2 separate regions of the Homo sapiens genome follow, and region 1 is linked to region 2. The links are contacts of gene promoters, found by promoter capture Hi-C in human tissues and cell types (Jung and others, 2019). All regions are on one chromosome and are shown on one strand. Each heading gives the region's core, a stretch centred on a gene start or on the middle of the fragment in contact. The rest is flanking DNA. Distances are from core to core; before and after follow the strand shown. Region 1 has its middle 150 kb from the start of LINC01307. Region 2 holds the start of FRRS1 (ferric chelate reductase 1).

Region 1 (2,724 bases), core at 200-2,699, 1.7 Mb before region 2:
CCCAGAGAAAGAGATGCACGTAGTGAAGAACTGAAGTCTCCTGACAACAACCATGTGAGTGAGCCTGGAGGTGGATTCTTCAATCCCTTCAAGTGGCTACAACTCCAGCTAACATCTTGACTGCAACCACATGGGAGACAATAAGTCAGAAGTTACTACCTATGACACTCTGATTCCTGACCTTCAGAACTGTGTGAGATAATAAATGTTTATTGTTCTAAGATACTAATTTTGAGGATAATTTATTGCATGGCAATAGATAACTAATACAATTATATGAGTCATCAGCTGCTCCTAGATTTGGGCAAAATATTTCAGGTTTAATAAATTTCCCATCACATTTAAAATACCTTTATTCTCACAAAATCAAATAGTTTAAAAATGAACTCTTATTTTAGGATTTTACCTATTTCTAATTTCTTTGAATTAATAGGTACAGAAAAATATTCCTAGTCCCGTTAAGACTGAACACATGGGCAGGAAGTATTCTTAACCACAATATAACTTAACACAGGAACAGGATATTATTGGGGGGTTTCAATTCTCAGCCCCTGGAGTGAACAAACTATAAGGTGGGCCTCATGACCCCCACTTCCTGATATTCATGCCTTGTGACCCATGACTTGCTCTTAACTGGTTGAATAATGCAAAGGTGATGGGATAAGAGTATAATATTCCTCTTGCTAAATTTTGTCCCTTGTTAACTTTAAGGAAGAAAACACCTTTGGTTGAGTGGCAAGACACTAGTCTCCAGCTGATAGCCAGCAAGAAACTGAAGTCCTCGGTCCAGCTACCCACTAGGAATGAATGCTGCCAGTAATCCTGTGCACTTAGAAGCAGATTGTTCCGCAACTGGACATCAAGTGAGACTGTAGCCTCAACCAAAATTGAGAATTTAATGCTGGGAGACCGTAGAGCAGGGGACCCAGCTAAGCCACTCCTAGATTTCCTAGATCCCACAGAAAGCATGAGGTAACAAATGTGTGTCATTTTAAGCCTCCAAATTTGTGGTAATACTTGAACACAGCAGCAGAAAACTAACACAGTAACCCATTAGATCATGCTTCTTCCTAAGATGAAAGATAGGGCATTATCTGTGCATTCAGTTCCATACTGCTGGATGACTTGTTTTAGTTGTGTGTGGACCTTCTGATGGTAATCATTCCAACACCAGTTAAGGGTCAGGTTTGCTTATTCTTTTGGTGGAAAATGCATTTATTGGATCATTTGATGGGACAGTGACCCCCCCACACACACACACAGCATTTAAGCCTCTAAATACCGTATATTTGATCACTGAAAAATGGAAATGCTAACTGAAGGATAGTCATCAAAACTTGTAGTCCATTCACGATAAGGGAGTCAAGGCTATCCAAATTTAACCAAGAGAAAAGAGCTCATTCCCAAACTAAACCAATGAGACAAGTAACCTAATTGTATCATTTCTTTTTCTTGTTGTTGTTTCCTGGATATTTTAGTTGTATGAGAGATCCTAGAGAGGTCTGTAGGGATGTAAGTACAACAGTCTTCTAGGACAGCATGCAATTGATCTCATATGCCAGTATCCTAAGCATTTGGTACCACCACCTGTCTAATTTCAGGATGCTCTCCTGCAAGTCTCACAGGCTCAATGGCATTGTCTAGCTGTCCTTCTATACTTTGAACCATTTATTGTAGGATTTTCTAGTTTTGGGGCTTTTGTAAAGTATAAATTGAAGAAGCTTGGTGGCAGAGGAAAGCTGTCCAAAATTCTCTTTCAATGGTTAACAGTTTGAAAGAAGTTTTTAAAATTGAGACCAGTTTTTCTCATTCTTAAGTTAAATTAATCTAAATATGTGTTTTCTTCTGAGAATAAAAATCAAAGGACCAAAATGGACCTTGTGTGATATCAGGGACTATTCCAAAGGCAGCCATTAAACTGCCAAGATAAGCTATCTCTAAAAAATTAACAGATATAGTCAATAAGCTTTTGTGTTACAAGCCCAATACCTACCAATGATTTGTAATAACCTACTAATGATTTATTTTTGGCTGCTATACCCTAAGGCGTTGCCATACAGAATGGCAGTGTCTTAATACCACTCATCCAGAATGGTCCTGCGCCAGGTGATGAAATTTGTCATACAGCAAACATCAGGTAGATCTAAAGCAGAAAACTTAGGGTTGTATAAGTGGCATGCTTTTCTTATAAGATCTGAAAATGCGAAACAGCCTCTGAACATATACCATCTGCTCTCTAGCTCTTTTCCAACCTATAACTCTAGGAAAGTTCTATGGCAAAGTCTAGCTTCTGTGAAGGGCCCCAGTTGTAGTCTCTTTGGGGAAAAGAACCTGCATTTGTAGGTATAATGGACATAGGGACTGTTAACAGCAATTACCTCTACGAAGTCAGACCAGATGAGAGAAAACAGTACAGTCAAGAAAACTTTTCTAATATGCACAAATCTGCATCATTTATGATATGATATTTTAGCTGAAACAAATTCAGAAACCAATAAGTGTAAGATATTACCTCTTTAAAATGTGACATTTCCTTATTCATGACTAAGTAAAACTATACCTTATAGGTGACTTGTTTTTTCTTCATTTCCTATTCCCATTATAGTCAATAGAGACTGTTTAATGTGTATGCAGGTCACAGTGGCTCTTCAACTAAAACATTGAAGTAATGGAGGAAAAGATGTTTTCTAAGCTTAAAATAAGCATGTAATTATTCAATTCCAC
Region 2 (3,185 bases), core at 233-2,732:
GCCCTTTCCTGAATAGACCCCCTTCTTGCCTGGGGACCAGTCTGCCTTTGCAGGACCAACAAATTAGCTACAAGATTAGAAATTATGGTTTAGGGGTCATGCAGCCTCTGGCTCCAAGAGTCTGAACCTCCCCAAATTGCTCCTGGGGATAACATCACTATTGTAAAACCTAAGATCAGTGCTTGAGATATTTTGCAGAGCCTGGACTCGGTGGATCAGCTGATGCCACACAGACCGGTAATTGGGCTCACCCAGTTCTGCCATCCCACCCAGGAACAGAAGACAGCAAGAAAACCTCACGTCGACCCCCCATGATTCCATCTCCAATCTGACCAATTAGCACTCCCACTTCCCAAGCCCCTACCCGCCAAATTATCTTTAAAAATTCTGATCTCCGAATCCTGGGGAGACTGTGTTGAGTAATAATAGAACTCCGGGCTGGGCGCGGTGGCTTATGCCTGTAATCTCAGCACTTTGGGAGGCTGAGGCAGGTGGAATCACTTGAGGTCAGGAGTTCCAAACTAGCCTGGCCAACATGGTGAAACCCTGTCTCTGCTAAAATACAAAAATTAGCCGGGCGTGGTGGCGGGCGCCTGTAGTCCCAGCTACTGGGGAGGCTGAGGCAGGAGAATCGCTTGAACCTAGGACGGGGAGGCTGCAGTGAGCCGAGATCATGCCACCGCACTCCAGCCTGGGCCACAGACAGAGACTCCGTCTCAAAACAAAACAAAACAAAACAAACAAACAAACAAAACAAAAAACTCCGGTCTCCTGCACAGCCAGCTCTGCGTGAATTACTCTTTCTCCATTGCGATTCCCCTGTCTTGATAAATCGGCTCTGTCTAGACAGCGGGCAAGGTGAACCCACTGGGCAATTACAATGTCACTCAAGGTCTGAAATGGAATGTTTAATATTTTCAATTACATTAAAGAGAAGAAAAAAAGTAAAAAACAGGAAAACAAAAAACAAAATAAAAACAAAGATTGTTAAAAATTCAATTACATTGTCTTTTCCTAGCCCTAAAATTTTTCTTTTGCAAAAGAGTCTTGTGAAACAGATTAAAGGCTTAAAAAGAAACAAAACTCCTAAATTTCAGGGGTAATTTGCAAAATAAAAGATTTCTTTTGCATTATATCATTCACACTGCAGAAAGGTTTCGGTTCTATGCAATCTGATCTTTTTCCACTTTTTAAAAGTTAATTTGCTTTTACTTAGCACTATTATAGAACAGGTATTTTCAAATAGTTTTGCAATTAAACACAAAAACTATAATTTTTGTGGCGAAGTAGGTACTAGTTGGCAAACACTGTTCCTTAGTGTAAAACAGAATTCTAAGTTTTCAGAAATGGAGTCCTAAAACTAGCACTGGTCTTGCAAATCAAGTTCTGCAGCTTAGTTTGGGAAAGGTTCCCTTTTGGCTCAAGGCTTAACTGGCTCCACCCAGCTGCTGAAATGTGATACAAGTTGTAACAAAACCGGAAGTTGGTTAGGCTGCCTTCGCTTCTCAAGGTAAGTGTCACGTCTTTTTCCTTAATGTCAAAGCTCTTTGTAAAGCGTTAAAAATCAAATCCAGCTTAGCGACAGACTGGAGAGCGAGTGCCTGTGCTGACCAGGGCAGTCGGCCAGGCAGAACGGGTGCTGTATTCCGAAACTATGTTCTGGAGCTTGAATTGAGCTAATGAGTGTTCACTAACGAGTTAGGTTAATATGTCCTGTGACTTTGACTAACAAGCTTTAATTCCAAGATATGGGTGGTTATAAGTAGAGACGTGTTTGGGATCCTGAAAATCATTGACTTTATTCTTGCAGGAGTTTTTTTTTTGTTTTTAATTTTAAATTTAAAACTGTAGGAACTCTTTTTTTATATTTAAAGCTAGTGGCATGGTTACCTATATCAGGGTCACTTAGAACCTTATTTGGTTTTTAAAGTGGCTTTTTATCTAGAACTTTTAGTCCCCTTACCCTCCCACTCCCTAGCCCTGGTGTGTCGTTAAAATTTCAGAAAGACTCCAGGGTGGCAAGGTGTTATCACTGCACTTATTTTTGTGTGTGCTTGTCATACTGCCCTAAAGGGTAAAGGGGATTTTTCAAATTGTAAATGTGTTATTAGGAATATTTCTTAACATAGCTAAACTTTTCAGTTCAGATATTTTCATTTGCTTCTGTATTTTTATTTTTTATTTTTATTTATTTATTTATTCATTTATTTTTGAGACGGAGTCTCGCTCTGTCCGCCAGGCTGGAGTGCAGTGGCGCGATCTCGGCTCACTGCAAGCTCCGCCTCCCGGGTTCAAGCGATTCTTCTGCTTCAGCCTCCTGAGTATACTGCTGGGATTACAGGCGCCCGCCACCACGCCCGGCTAATTTTTTGTATTTTTAGTAGAGACGGGGTTTCACTGTGTTGGCAAGGATGGTCTCTATCTCCTGACCTCGTGATATGCCCGCCTCCGCCTCCCAAAGTGCTGGGATTACAGGCTTGAGCCACCGCGTCTGGCCTATTTATTTATTATTTTCGAGACGGAGTGTTGCTCTTGTGGCCCAGGCTGGAGTGCAACGGCGGGATTTCGGCTCACTGCAACCTCTGCCTCCCGGGTTCAAGCAATTCTCCTGCCTCAGCCTCCTGAGTAGCTGGGATTACAGGCAGGCACCACCACACCCGGCTAATTTTGTATTTTTAGTAGAAACGGGGTTTCTCCATGTTGGTCAGTCTGGTTTCGAACTCCCAGCGTCAGGTCATCTGCCTGCCTCGGCCTCCCAAAGTGCTGGGATTACAGGCGTGAGCCACCGCGCCCAGCCACTTCTGTATTTTTAAAAAAGTGGTAAGATTTGAGTATTATACTGGGATAGAACTGAAGTTGGGGGCTTAATTTGATCTATCAGCTTATTGAAAACAAAGACCTTTTAAGAGATGGTTTTGTTAGGTTGGAGAAGTGAGTTTTAGTTCGTCATTTAGTTAGCCAGTATGTTGATTTTTTTGGTGAAGTGTACTCTCTGTTTCACACCTGTCAGCTTTTTTAATATTGGATTTTCTCAAAATTCACATAACAATCACACTGTATGAGTACTGTTTTGAAGGTTGTCTGCTAGTCAGAATGAATGGAGATCAATGTGTAGGACACCTTTACTGATATCCAGAGGTTTACCAAAAGACAAGTCACCAAATGTGGCAGAAAAACATGATAAA

The links. Contacts are between HindIII fragments. The study calls those that stand out against the background at their distance.
Region 1: a fragment that was not itself captured here is called in contact with the fragment with the promoter of FRRS1 in region 2 in 1 of the 25 tissues and cell types used here (lymphoblastoid cells).

The regions. Positions count from the first base shown.
Region 1 is chr1:101,474,578-101,477,301 of GRCh38, reverse strand. No RefSeq gene overlaps it. Among named protein-coding and RNA genes, the nearest start is that of LINC01307, 150 kb to the right of the region's middle. The HindIII fragment of the contact is 3,779 bases long and covers 1-2,724 here.
Region 2 is chr1:99,764,932-99,768,116 of GRCh38, reverse strand. It overlaps FRRS1 (ferric chelate reductase 1), which reads left to right and starts at 1,482. Exons shown (of 17, transcript NM_001361041.2): 1 at 1,482-1,510. The HindIII fragment of the contact is 12,687 bases long and covers 1-2,470 here.